3 separate regions of the Homo sapiens genome follow, and all the other regions are linked to region 1. Evidence: promoter capture Hi-C in 16 types of primary human blood cells and fetal thymus (Javierre and others, 2016). All regions are on one chromosome and are shown on one strand. The core of a region is centred on a gene start or on the middle of the fragment in contact, and the rest is flanking DNA. Distances in the headings are between cores, read along the strand shown.

Evidence for each region. The method cuts DNA at HindIII sites, captures the fragments that hold promoters and counts their contacts. A CHiCAGO score of 5 or more calls a contact.
Region 2: a fragment that was not itself captured here is called in contact with the fragment with the promoter of FILIP1L in region 1 in 1 of 17 cell types (M1 macrophages); the score reaches 5.0 in M1 macrophages.
Region 3: a contact is called between a fragment that was not itself captured here and the fragment with the promoter of FILIP1L in region 1, in 3 of 17 cell types (erythroblasts, naive B cells and megakaryocytes). The highest score is 6.0, in erythroblasts.

The regions. Positions count from the first base shown.
Region 1 is chr3:100,112,465-100,117,110 of GRCh38, forward strand. It overlaps FILIP1L (filamin A interacting protein 1 like), which reads right to left and starts at 2,037. Exons shown (of 6, transcript NM_001387850.1): 1 at 1,589-2,037. The region is part of intron 1 of CMSS1 (cms1 ribosomal small subunit homolog); the gene reads left to right. The HindIII fragment of the contact is 6,115 bases long and covers 73-4,646 here.
Region 2 is chr3:99,865,590-99,870,235 of GRCh38, forward strand. All of the region lies in intron 1 of CMSS1 (cms1 ribosomal small subunit homolog), which reads left to right. The region is part of intron 4 of FILIP1L (filamin A interacting protein 1 like); the gene reads right to left. The region is part of intron 1 of LOC105374010 (a long non-coding RNA gene); the gene reads left to right. Among named protein-coding and RNA genes, the nearest start is that of HP09053, 44 kb to the left of the region's middle. RefSeq lists a silencer at 2,556-2,850. The HindIII fragment of the contact is 1,217 bases long and covers 1,517-2,733 here.
Region 3 is chr3:99,889,426-99,894,071 of GRCh38, forward strand. All of the region lies in intron 1 of CMSS1 (cms1 ribosomal small subunit homolog), which reads left to right. All of the region lies in intron 4 of FILIP1L (filamin A interacting protein 1 like), which reads right to left. The region is part of intron 1 of LOC105374010 (a long non-coding RNA gene); the gene reads left to right. Among named protein-coding and RNA genes, the nearest start is that of HP09053, 68 kb to the left of the region's middle. The HindIII fragment of the contact is 5,601 bases long and covers 1-4,646 here.

The DNA of each region.
Region 1 (4,646 bases), core at 787-3,286:
GCGCCACTACCTAAGACCAAGTCTTGACTAAATTTATTACTTAAATTTATTGCTAATTTATTGCTTAAATAAAGCTTAAGCAAAAAAGACAATTACACATGAACTTTAATAGAAGGTAAACTCTAAAAATAAATTGTCACTCTTTAAATAATGAATGCTTTTCTTTGCTGCAGAACTTTTACAGAGTATCTTTGTATTGGTTAGTATAAGAATCCAAACCCCACATTGCTTTGGGAAATTACTGAGAAAATTCTCATCAGAGTAGTAGACCTTAATTACCCAGGTGGAAAGAGCCCATGAATATTATTGCTGCCTTTAGAAGTTTTTATTAACAAACAGCTCTTACAGTATTTATGCTGATTTTTAATTAAGCATAATGAGAGTTTCATAATAGTGTCAACTGATAAATGTAGAGAAATGTTTACTTGGAATATTTGGCTTTGGGAGATAGCAGATTGATAAATCAGAAAATGTCATCACAGGAAAAACAAGTTTAACTGTAGCTAAAGGAACATTGCTGTAATTGCAATGCATTCTCTCTAGTATTAACTACACCATGTTCTCCTTTATGCATATCTAATACACACGTGGAATATGGTAGTGTAGTTAAACAGTGTATGTGTTGCACCTCTTCTATTCCTTCCTGAGATGTGAACAGATAATGAATAAAGAAAGATATGTAATCATTAATTGGTATGGAAAGAAAAAAGAATAACTGAATATGTCACAACCATTTTAACTGAACACATATCTCTCTTCAGTGGAGCGCCTATATACAAAACTGTGCAGCCACCCTAAACATTGAATAATCCTCCCATTGAGGAGTACAGTGAGCAGAATTTTCTGTGATATCATTTGGCAGCAGCCTAGCATCATTTCCCATTTATATCCAGATGTGATGTGCCCATGGATATCCAGTCATCTTCTGTGGGGTGTTACAGAACAAGTTCTTGATAGGTATCTCCCAAGACCTGCCAAAAACCTTATCTCAGAAACCTGCTTCTGTTCTCTGGCTCTCATTCATTAAATCTTAACATCAACAGAAGGTAAACAAACAAAAGAAAAAAGATACAATATAGTTGCCATTTGAAAATGTTAGTTTCTTCCATTAATCTTTCCATGAAAAGAGAATTCCTCCTCTGCAATTTAACCTATTCAGTATAATTCTCCATTTTCAACACATTGTGATGATTTTGACACTGTATATTGATCATTCACATCAGCTTACAAAATCAAGCTATTAAGAAGGAAAGCCATTTATCCAAACATACTTTTTCTTTAATTTTTGACTATCCATCTTACTCTTAACAGGATAACAATTTAAAGTTTCATTTTGGTTTTCTTTCATGTGTATCACTATAGTAAAACTTACCTACTGTCAGGATAGTTCCTCTATTTTGCAAGCAACTCTTAGTCATTTTAGCCTAAAAGTCATCATCTGTCATAAGCTCTTAATCATACTACGTTCCCTTGCATAATATTCACAAGATCCTACTTTTGGAGAGTGGTGTTGGCCGCTCCTAGCTGGTGAATAACACAGAAACATCCCAAAGCCTCTTCTCAGCAAGGATGGGGACACTTAGCTTACCGTGCAGGTACCGTGCAGGTGTTGATCACACCTGGTAATTCCTTCTTCTCATCCCCACCAAAATCCAACAGTGGAATCCAGGACCAACAACAACGTTTTCTTCTTCTCTTTTTGGACACCCTCTCAGTTTTTGTTTTGTAGGCTTGAAAGCCACCGAGAGTTTGCAACCAGGGGCCAGTGATAGCTCTGCAAAGGAGAGGCAGTGGGGAGCCCAACAACAAGTAGGCCCAAACACTAAATATTGCCCTCTTCCCTCTCCGGGCAGTGTCCTTCATGCTCTGAAGACAGGCAGCCTTACCAAAACTCTTACCCCACAGCTTGCCAGTCTCTGTGGAAGAAAGGTTCTAACTGGACTGGGCTGCAGGATGAGGTGACCCAAAAGCCAGGAACCATCTGCGCAGAGCAGACAAGTAGAGGCAGGCACAGGCTCCGTGAGCACGTCTGTGTGTGTGTGTGTGTGTCTGTGTATGTGTGTTTGCATGCCTGTGCCCAGCAGCTGCTCTCCAGATTAGAAGACACCACTCTTTGGCCAGCAACTCTGAAACACCCTCTTAGGTAATTTTAAATTCATGTGCACATCTTGGCTGAGAGTAGAAACTTCCCAAGCACAACCTGGGTCCCATTCTTTGCTGTGTTGCTACCCCAGATATATTGTGAACCACAGACAGCAGTGCTAGCACCTTAGGAACAGATGCCCAGATGGACATTAAATTGCACCTCATTTTGTACCCTGCAGCCATGAGCTGATGTAAGCCTTGTTTGTGATTTAAGTAACAAGGGCATGACCCCTTCTTTGACACCCATAACCCAAGGCACTGTAAACATTCGCTATTATTAACGCTGTGTTGGACTCAAACTTGAATGCCTGCCTGTTCCATTTAGTGTCACAGGAGACACGAGGGCAAAGTGCTGAGGAAACTCTAGAGCAACATCGGAATGCATGGTGGTATGTTTATTATTATTATTTGACATTTTGTTTTATATTATTCAAGTGTTAAGAAAACCTTCATACTTAGGATTGCTAAAATTTGAAGCATCTAATTTTCTTTAAGTAGGATCACTTGTTCAGATTGAGGGGTTGGATAGAAGGGAGGAGTTTGTTCATTTATTCAACAAATATATATTTCAGCATCCATTATGTATCAGATCACTTACCAGACATGCCTACCACCTGCCCAGTGCTCAAGTCATGCATTATCTAATTTAATCCTCACAGCAGCCCTTTAAATTAGTCCTACTCCTGGTGATCTAATGAGAAAACCAAAGATCAGAATAATTTAATAACTTCCTAGGATCTCACAGATGATAGATATAAGACTGAGGATTCAAAATTGAATCTGAGTTACTCCAAAGCCCATGCTCTTTATTTTTAATTTTTAACATCAAAATAATTTCAGACTTATAGAAAAAATACAGGAATAATAAAGAATTTCCATATGCTCTTCACTAAGGTTCTCCAATGTTTAACATTTTACCACTGGTTGTATTCTCCCTCTCTTTCTCTTTCTCTCTCTCTCTCTCTGTCTCTCTCTCTCTCTCTCTCTCTCTCTCTCTCTCTCTCTCTCTCTCTCTCTCTGTCTCTCTCTCTCATCCTCCTTTCCACCCGTGAGTTTATTTTGGTGTGTGTATATTTTTTTCTGAATTAATTTATATACTTTAGTGTGATTATCTTAAAAATGTAAGTATACTCTTCTACATAACCACAGTATAACAATTAAATTCAGTAAATCAACTTTACTTTCTAATCCATAGATCCCATTCAACTTTTCACCAAATGTCTCAATAATATCCTTTATAGAAAAAAAATGGTTTTTTAGTCCACGATTATGTGTTGCATTTAGTTGCCTTGTCTCTACGTTCCTTCAATCTTGAACAGTTCTGTAATCTTCCTTTTTTATATGTGACCTTCACATTTTTGAAGAGTACGTTTTGTAGAATGTTCCTTAGTTTAGATTTGTGTGATGTTTCCTCATTGTGAGATTGAAATTGTGTATTTTTATGGCAGGAATACTACAGAAACAATGCTGTATTCTTCTTAATCATATCAGGAGTCACATAAACGGAGTTAGTCTTGTAACCAAACCCACTTGCTTAAGGTGGTATCTGTTAGATTTACTGTAAAATTATGGTTTTTCCTTTTGCAGTTAATAAATATTTTGTGGGGAGATACTTGGAGACTAGGTAAACATATTGCTCTTAAATAAACTTTCTTAGAGTGAAGAAGAGCATTCCCTTCTCCTCACTTATTTTTGTGTTTATTTATATCAACATGAGCTCATAAATTGCTGTTTTATTGAATGAGTTATAAATCACTAATATCATTATTTATTTTAATGCTCAAATGATCTCAGATGTGGTCCTCATGTTTTTCTGAGTACTTTCTTACCTTCTGGCACAAGAAAATGTTCCATAAGCATCTTGTACTTTCTGTGCCCAACTCTGGAATTAGCCATATCTTCAAGAAGACCTCCATCCATTATGGAAAATGGTATTTAGAAACCAAGATCTGGGGATTGCGTGAGCTCATTGCTTCCAGGCCCTTTCAGGTAATAGGCTAGGAAACACAAACACACACGCGCGCCTATATCTGTTGCTCTGTCTATTTATATTAAAGACTATGAGATCACACTGATAGCTGCATTTCCAATCTAACACCATAGACATAATCTGGCTTTTAACCCTTTCCATATTTGTAACTCCTTTCCCCAACAGTGAGGATAAGGTGGTTTCTGTTATCCTCAGAATACTTATGTATTTGCTCATTGCCCCTGTGGGTAAGGGCCCCTTTGGCCCTTAGTCTTTTTGGCCCCATCATCCCTGATTTCTCAAGGAAAAGGAAAGGAAGTAGTCAAAATTTTTTAAATAAAAAAGAAGGAAATGATGAGAATAAGAGTTTCATGTTCTTTCTATACCATAAAGTATCTGTATCTTCATGGCAAGGTAGGTATTAGAAATCATCATGCAATCTCTGTGAAGGTGTGAAGATGTCATGGAAACAAAAGTTTATAAAGACTGAGGGAAGAGTTCAATTATTTATTCACATAAATAAATAATTGCC
Region 2 (4,646 bases), core at 875-3,374, 250 kb before region 1:
TTTAAAAAATTGTGACTTTGCCAGTAATAACATCTCATGTTCCCCAGAGGTGGTGGGTTTGTCATAAATACCATTTCCATAGAACATTTCAAGGAACCTAAAGTTCTTGGAAAATATTTTTAACAGGCAGCCATTTCTCTGACAGACTTCAAGGGCATAATAATAAATATATATATATATATCCTTAGAAATATGTGTGTATGTATTTTATCTTATTAAGAATATTTATATGTTTTTTTATTGCTCACAATCCATTTATATTTCAATGATCCTTTTGTATTTTAGCAGATTAAAGAATCCAGGAATGGTTCTTTAGAAAATCATTCCAATGTAGCTGTTAAATTTTGTTTTTAACCTCCATTAGTCCCTTTTTTCTCTTCCCAGGTCACAGGTTATTTTCACTTAGATATTGCACGTGGGCATTTTGGAGGATTTAATATGATTCCTTCTCTTAACCTCTACTCTTCGTTGGGCTGCTTTTCTTTCCTTTATTCTCTCCTTTATTCTCTCCTTTGTAGAAAGCATGTATCCTTTTCCAGAACTTATTCTGAGCAAAAAGTTAAAACTTTTTTTAAGCCTGTGTTTTTTTTTTTAAAGGCTTTCCTTTTTTATGTGGCTTTCTTACCTTAATTGTTGTTCAGTTCACCACATTTAATAAAAAGCCAAAGCAGGGGCCAGTCACGTACCAGAATGGATAAGTTCACTGGTTTTCACCTCCTTGTAGTCTGGCTGCCTACACAGAGGCAGTGGCTAAAGTGGTATGCTTGGGAAACCAAACGTTTCCTAACTTGTTAGTGGGAAATTCAAACTTCAGAAATTTAGAAACCACAACAACAGATGCCTATGTTTTACTGTGACTACTGAAGTCACAGTTTGCCATAGAAACAGGATGGATAGCAGCCTGAAGAGTATAAAATGTGAAACATTTTGATCCTTAGAGGACTTTTTTGGGTCCTCGATTTTAGCTGTCATAAATCAGTAAACAAGGAGCAAGGAAAATAGGGAAATTTAATACATTTAAGAGTACTTAGAGGTTCAGGCAGTTAGAGGATGAGGGTTAATGTGTGGCTTGGCTTCCTGCTGAGTAAACAATTAAATCATGAGCCACAGTGAGCATCCTACTTCTACCTTTACCCACTCTTCCTAGTTCCTGAGGATGATTGGTTTATATCTTTTCCATGATTTTTGCAAAGTGAGAGTTTGGGCCATATGCCATCTCTAATTACAGACAGGTGGAAAAGTTTTATTCTGTAATCTGCTGGAACATGAATGACCATTTTTCTTGTGGTCTGTGTTTTGCTTGTCCTCTTGCATGCTTTGTACAAATTAAAATTATTTTGGTTATCTGAGCCTTGTTTAATTTTCCCTTGACTGTAAGTCCAGAGCATTTGGGTTATGTTTTCCTTTTCAGCAACTTCTGAATACTGAGAAGACAGAAAATGCATAAACAGTCTGATCATACTTCCTTTCCTGTAAGTTGGGTTCTTTTAAGATGAACATGTTCTAGAGGATATTAAGCTTGCATAGCAAGGAGTAATTCCATCAAAATATGACAGTGGTCAACAGCATATCTGCTAGAGGTGAGAGCAATGACTGTACCCCACTTCTCTTGGCCCTGGGTCTGCTGCTTATACTGTCCCTGAGCAGGAGTTTCACCCATTTAGTTTATCTATGTGAGAAATGTTCTGTTTGTGGCAGTTAAAGAAATGGCTATAGTATACCTCATGTATGTGCTATTTGAATACCATCCATTTTTGCCCTGACCATATCTTACCTTGTGATTTGAATTTTAAGAGAAGGCAAACTATCTCAGGTTTTAGTAGCTGAAAAAAAGGTTTTTGAAAAAAGCTCTGGCTTCACTATTCATCGCTTTTTAAAGTTTACTAATTCACAGCTAAAAACAAAGAAAGCAGAACCCCAGGTATTAAACAATTGAAAAGCCACATATCTGATGGACAGGAAATGTTGGACCAAAATCTGCTAGTGACTTAACTATCTGACCTTACCTCATCTGCTTGTCACCTTAGCTGCAACATGGGAAGAGCAGTGCAATTTTGTCTCTAAGGTCTACAAAGCCTTTGGCAATCTCAAATCTCAGTTCCACAAAATAAATACTCCCAACAATCTTTAGAGTCCTTTCCTCCCTTCTTTCCTATATAACACTGTATACAAATTCACATGTCAAGAGATTTTATGGCTCATCAAGTCTCAATGGTTCAAAAGAATGGAAAACCGTAATTGGAATTCCATGGGATTCAGATTTATTTGAGTCTGTTGTAGTTCACAAGTTGTAAGTATGCTGTAAAAGCAAATAAGTACTTAAAATGTTATACTAAATTCAAAGTACAATTAAACTGAAAAATTAACACCTAGGCAAAAAGTATTTAGACTGTTAATTTCAAAAGAGACTCTTTATTGTTTGTGGCTAGGATCTGATATAAGCCATTTAGCCCAGGTTGTAAAGATTTGTCTTACAGATTTGTTTTTTGTGGGTGCATGGTAAAACAGGGAGATTCCAAACTAGCTTTTAAGCCTTTTGCAGTCACCAGCTCTCTTCGGTCCTTTACCTGCTCAGGAAGTTGTTTCTTACTTCAGATGAGTAAGACATTTTTAGGAAAGTTCTTGTGGGTTTCTCACAGGAGGGACTGCCTTGTAGCAGGGAAATCAAGGTAAAGGGTAACCTCTCCTTACAGAGTGGCTAAGGTTAGGCACGCTAGAGACAGATCTTCAACAAGCTTAATCCTTTACTCCACTTCACAGCTGGGTGTCTGAGAACAGGAATTCTTCATGACTGCATCCTACAAAGGACCTCCTCTTTGGCCTGAGACAGCCCCCTATATGTCAGCCCAGCAGCACCAGATGATGAAGGAGCATCATCCCTATGGATAGACTAGCATAACCAGAAGAGTAACAGTAGCTGCTATAGGTTTGGCACTGTGCCAACTGCTTCATCACGTTTAAGCTTCAGGTTAAGAAGTGATGTTACTTTAAGCTGCCTTCCTTTCTGCATAAGTCCAGGTTGTTCTGAAGGCCAAATAATGGGTTTTTAAACTTACAGTTTGGGTGCTCTGATCTTGGCACAAGCCTTATTTGTCTTTTAACCTCAGGTTCTCCTTTCATAATAGACTTCTGAAGAATAAGTCTGCCATCTTTTTTGGAATGCTGCATTCAGTCATCTCCATTTACATTTCAGTTCCCATCTTTTCCATGAATGTTTCTTAACTTGTCTAACCCTGGCTGATTTTCCTTTTCTAAGTCCCCACAGCCCTTACAGCTTTATTACCTAAATATTCTACATTATTTTGTACTGCTTTCTAATTTGTTTTAGTATATTACTTTTGCCGTTAAGCCAACTGTAAGCTCCTTAAAGGAATAATACCTCTGTATCCCTCATATGGGTTGAACTCTGTGCATACTTGACCAAATGATAGAGAGGTAAAAAGAACCACTTCCTAGGGGAGTATAACCATCCCTTAGGCTGAGTGGTACCTAAAGTTCTCAGAATGACTTGTTATTAGAATGGAAGAAGGACAAGTAGAGTTTTGTTCCTCTTGTTCTTGTCACTTCTGGAAGGAGAACCATTTAGTGAAGAGAAGAATTCACTTGGAGACAAATTTAATTAAAGTCCAGATGGGGAAAATTGGCCAGAGAATCTTAACTTTGCCTGTGATTCTTTGCATCTGTGTTCAGCCTAATGAATTTTATTGAACTGTAAAAAGAATTTTATGGGGCAGAATTTGGGGGGAGATTAGTGGAGCCCCAAATCACTTGGCAAAGTTACTCTCACTTTTATTTGAAAGCCTCAAGAATAATATGCGACTTCAAACATAATGTATTTATTTTAATAATATGAGTGTTTGAAAAGTAGATAATTTTCCTTTTAGCAGCAGTGGATTCATTTTCACAAAATTCCACAGAGTAATTCACTTCTTCTGCCATTCCCAATTAACAGACTAACAAGTTAAGACTAAGGGACTTCCACAATATCTCACTGAATGGGTGTTTGTCTTCAGCAAGAAACCAGCAACTTTCTCATGTTCTCTCTAGGCTCCTGGACCAGGCAACTCCTTCCTTTTCTTCAAATTTAACAGGCAGACACTTAAGTCTTGCGAGCCCAAATGTGATGTTTTACATTCCACTTATGATCTCTGCTCAGAGATTTGTTTTTGTTTTGATTCACATAAAAAAGCATTTTAAAAAGAAAGAGAAAAACATATTTCACCTTTAAACTTTTGTTCCAGGACTGGTGGGCCATGAGACACAATAAATCTGGCAGATTTGCTTCTGTCAGGGCAGCCCATCTTAGAGGACTGACCTCAGCCTTGAGGCTGCTTTAGATACAGTGATTTGGAGCTCTCACAGGCCCAAGTGCTACAGCTGTGTTCATCTTTTCTCCATTTACATGTGGACTCTTTCCCTCAAATTACCCTCATTTTCTTTAGCTAATTTGTCTCTGTAGTGATATAATCAGTAGCTTTTATTTTTATATTGTCTCTTCTCTACTTGATCAGAGTTCCCATGAGGGTTATTGCTCATTATTCAATCTTTATTGAGTACTGAGAAATACTTGGGGTGGATGACATTGTTCCCTTTTTGTAATTTGTAGAAACCAAGGGAACAGGAGGCTCACCCAGTAAATGGATGGC
Region 3 (4,646 bases), core at 1,245-3,744, 220 kb before region 1:
TTCTGACCTTTTACTTTCAGCTTTACCATACCCTTATGTTCTGGTGAGTCTCATATAAATAACGTATAGCTAGGAATTATAATTGTTAAAATTGCTTTAATCCAGTTTTACAATTTTTATCTTTTAGCAGGATCATTTTGTCTATGTTTATAGTAATTATTTGCTGTCTTATTTGATAATTCCATTTGTACCACCTTTTTGTTGCTTTTATCTCATTTCTTGGCTTCTTCTGAATTTTATTTTTATCTATTTCCTCTCTCTCTCTACCTTGTAATACATACTGTATTCCTATTCTATTAGGGATTAATGACCCTATAAATTCCATCTCACAAGTTAAATTCTCAAAAGTCTAAAGCTACTCAGTATATTAATCCTCCTCCAAAAAAATCTAAGGACTTCAAAACACTTTTAATTCTGAGCATACCCTCCCAGTTTTTATATTATTGTTATTATATATTTTAGTTCTAACTTTAATTCCATAGGACATTATAATCTATTATTGTTCTATTAGGCAATTATTGGTTTAGATATACCAATATATTTAACACTTTCTTCGCCTCTTATTTCTTCTTTTATTCCAGACTTCTCTCTGGGACCACTTTCCTTCAATCTAAATGCATCCTTTTGAAGTTCCTTTAGTGGAAGTCTGCTCTTTGCACACTGTATTTATTTGAATCTGTCTTTATTTCACCATCGTTCTTGAGGATTTTTACTGGGTATAGAATGCTTGGTTGAGACTTGTTTTCTGTCAGTACATTGAAGATATTATTCCACCAACTTCTGGTTTCCCATTTTACTGTTGAAAAATCATCTATCTAATTGTCATTCCTTTTTTCCCTGGCTGTTTTTATGATCTTCCCTTTGTCTTTGATATTATACTATTTCATTTGTATGTACTTAAATGCAGATTTCTTTTATTTTGTCCTTACCAGGTTTCATTGAGCTTCCTGAGTCTGTAGATTAGTGTCTTTCTTCAGTTCTAGAAAATTCTTAGTTTATATTAACATTTCAAATATGGCTTCTGAACAGTTTTTTCTCTCCTTAATCTCTTATAACCTAGATTAGACACATGTTAGACTTTCTTTATCTTCACATCCCTTAACTACTCTTCAGTTATTCCATCTGTTTGGCTTTCCAGACTATATTCTGTGCAATTTCTTTGAATTTTTCTTCCAGTTTACTAATTCTCATTCCTTGATCTACAGTTGTTACCTATTTCATTTCCCAAAGTTTCTATTTGTTTTTCTAGTTTGACCATTTTCTATAGTCTTTTACTTTTTAAACTAGAAATACCAATCCGCTGTTTTTTTTTTTCTGACATATTAAGTATGTCTTACATGCTGTCTGATTATTTAAATATCTGAGGTCTTTGCAGCTCTGATTCTGCCATTTAATGTCACTGGCTTTCAATAATTGTATATTATTTTCTGTATGCTTTCAGATTTTTTTATATGAAGTCACGTATCTCAGAATTTTATATGTAGGAATTCCTTGAGCCCTGAGTTGAAGGTAGTTTCCTCTAGAGAGGATTTCCATTTGTGCCAAATGCCAAAGGGGTATTTTCAGCCTAAAATCTTTTTAAACTGAATTTTTTGACCTAGGATCTTTGGGATTTTTTTCTTTTGTTTTGTTTTTGTTTTTTTTTCAGACCACCCAGTTAGTATGAATCTGCAAATTCTCGTGTGGGCTAGCTTGTTAGTATACCTTCTCAGTGGAGTTTATTTTCCCTCTAACTCCCAATGCCATAGTTCATGGAAAGCAGTTTTCCTTGCAGTCCTTTAGAGGTTGATTTTGTTTCTAAATTACCCTTTCGTCTGGGTAATGTGGGTACTTCCATCTGGGCATTCTGACAGTTTAGCTCTTTGAAATCTCAGCTTTATGTGGGGCTGGGAGGACCCTGGGCTTTGTACTCTGTCTACATGCCCTATGATGTCATGAAAACTAAAATTTAAGTTTATGGAGTTTAACAAAACATTCTCAAAGCAAAAACCAGCTTTTGTGCTTTGCTTTACCTTTCTAGGTTTTCACTTTTATTCAGTCTTTGGCCTTGAATATTCCTAATATTACTTGCCATCTTATAGATGTATTTTTTGAAATATTGTATATATTTTATTTTGCTTTTTAATATGTGTTGGATTTTTTGGGTTTTTTTTGTTTGTTTTGTTTTGTTGGTGAGACACTAGGTTAGGGTAGCTAATCCATTTCACCATCAGCAATGGACATTAGAACAATAATAATCTCATACCGAAAATCAGCCTGAAAACTATGTCTAAAAGGAAATATTTCAAATTAAGAAATGGAGTTTTAGCTTAACCCAGTACAGATTTACATCACAGCATTTCCATTCATTGCTCAGCTTACTAATAAGCCACCAGTGATTTTTCAGTTGCCTAATTGTATAAACATTGTGTCCAAGATAAGGTCCAACTATTAACAAAACTACACTTTTTAAGTTCTAGTCATTCTTAGGTCTACATATTAATAGAAGAATCAGTCGGCTATCTAGAATAGCTATGATTCACTAACACTTATTAGTTAAATTTATATTAAATACAATATAATAATTTTTCTGATTTTTTCACAGTTGTTACTTCTTAGTTCAGGCAAACACATTAGTCAGAGCCTGATGTAAAGAGGGATGGTCTAAGAGCTTCTGCTATGCTTTTACCAAACCTCTGTGAGAAATAGAATATCACTGGAGTCTCATTCCAGATGCTTCAAAGGGAAACTGTTCTTATGTGAATGATGCCACTTTGAGAACTGCATCTTGAATTAAGAAGTTTTTCATAGTGCACTAGGCAAGTCTCCAATTTTGTATGGAGAACCATGTAATGTGAGGGCTTCACATCTTTGAAGAATTCCCAGGATATGGCAACTTTAAACTATTGACCTTCACTGAGAACTGTCATGAAAATAGTGCCCTGGCTTCTCCAAGTGGTCTAGAATGTGAGTAACCAAAAAATTATACTTTGTCTAGGAAGTGTCCAGCTGTAATCATCCAAAAACCTGAACTCCCATTGGCTCAAACAATAGTGAAATATGTCACCACACAACAAAAAATCCAGCCTTGTGGCAGGTTCTAGACATAGCATGTTGCCTCTGACTCCCTGGTTCTTGTGGCTTTGATCTCTTCCCTTTGATGGCTTCATTGTCACACTGGTAGCAAGATGACCTCAGTAGTTCCAGGCATCTCATCCAAACCTGCAACACCCAGAGGTGGAGAAGGTGCCATCTCTTCTGGTGTCTCTTTAGGAGCCAGTAAGCCTTTCCCATAACTCTCCCCCAATTCCTTACTCCATCTCACCCACCCTCAAAGGCTTGCCCTTATGCCTTATTGTCTGGAACTGCCAAAGGGAAAGAGAATGACATAACTAGCTTATAAATCAATCAGATTTTATCCTTGATCTAAACATAGGTCAAGTTCATGTCGATCATGTGGGCTTAATGGATTATTCTAAGTTATCTTTTACATAAATTCTAAGCGTACTATTGGCCTGTATTTTTCTTCACAAAGAAGATGAGGCCCCTGTTGGTGCTGATCCCCCAAAACAGAGCTGAATTAGAAGTGATCAGGACAGTGACTGGAGGAGGAGTGGCAATGCCTTGCTAAGATGCAAGCATGATGCTCTGTGTGTCTGTTCTCTCAAGTGTTACTGGGAAGAAATCTGGGGATTTTTAGAAGACACCTTTCTGCTTTCAGGTATCTCTATTTCCAGTAACAAAATTGGCATCTAGACTTTTTTTTTTTTTTTTTTTTTGAGATAGAGTCTCACTCTGTTGCCCAGGCTGGAGTGCAGTGGCGCAATCTCGGCTCACTGCAACCTCCGCCTCCCGGGTTCACGCCATTCTCCTGTCTCAGCCTCCTGAGTAGCTGGGACTACAGGCGCCTGCCACCACGCCCGGCTAATTTTTTGTATTTTTAGTGGAGACGGGGTTTCACTGTATTAGCCAGAATGGTCTCGATCTCCTGACCTCGTGATCCGCCTGTCTCGGCCTCCCAAAGTGCTGGGATTACAGGCTTGAGCCACCTCGCCCAGCCGGCATCTAGACATTTTTTAATAGGCATTTAGTAACAGTAACAAATATTATTGTTCATTTTATAGAATTTGAAGTCTTCTCAATCTAAGACTAGATTTTGGTTTTTTAAGGTATGAGGTTTTATGGATCTTTTTACTATCATGTAGGTATCTAAGAATTACATCATTTGTTTGACAAAAGCAGATAGCTAATTCCTTTAAAGTTAGCTATTTTAAAGTAATCTTCAATTGCTTTAATCTCAAATCATTTATACTCTACAGATAATTTATTTTTCTGTGATGAGCAGAAATAGTTTCATGCTGATTGAGAATGATTTTTGTTTGCCAGCATCCCTTTATCAAATATAGAGATACTTAAAAATATCTTTAGGTTTTACTTCCCTCCACCCCAACCCAAGACGTTTTGAAGGTAAAAAATCTGGCTCCCCCTTTGCCAAATCCACAAATATTTCTGTGAGTTGCTCTACAGTTTTCTTCTTTTTGAAGCTGGGTGTCAAGATATTCAGTATTCATTTATTAAGGACCTGCTATGTTAAGTGAGATACATTTTGGAGGAGGAAGGCCAGTTAACATAGAACCAGCATATAATAGCTTCAGTAAATTTTCTTT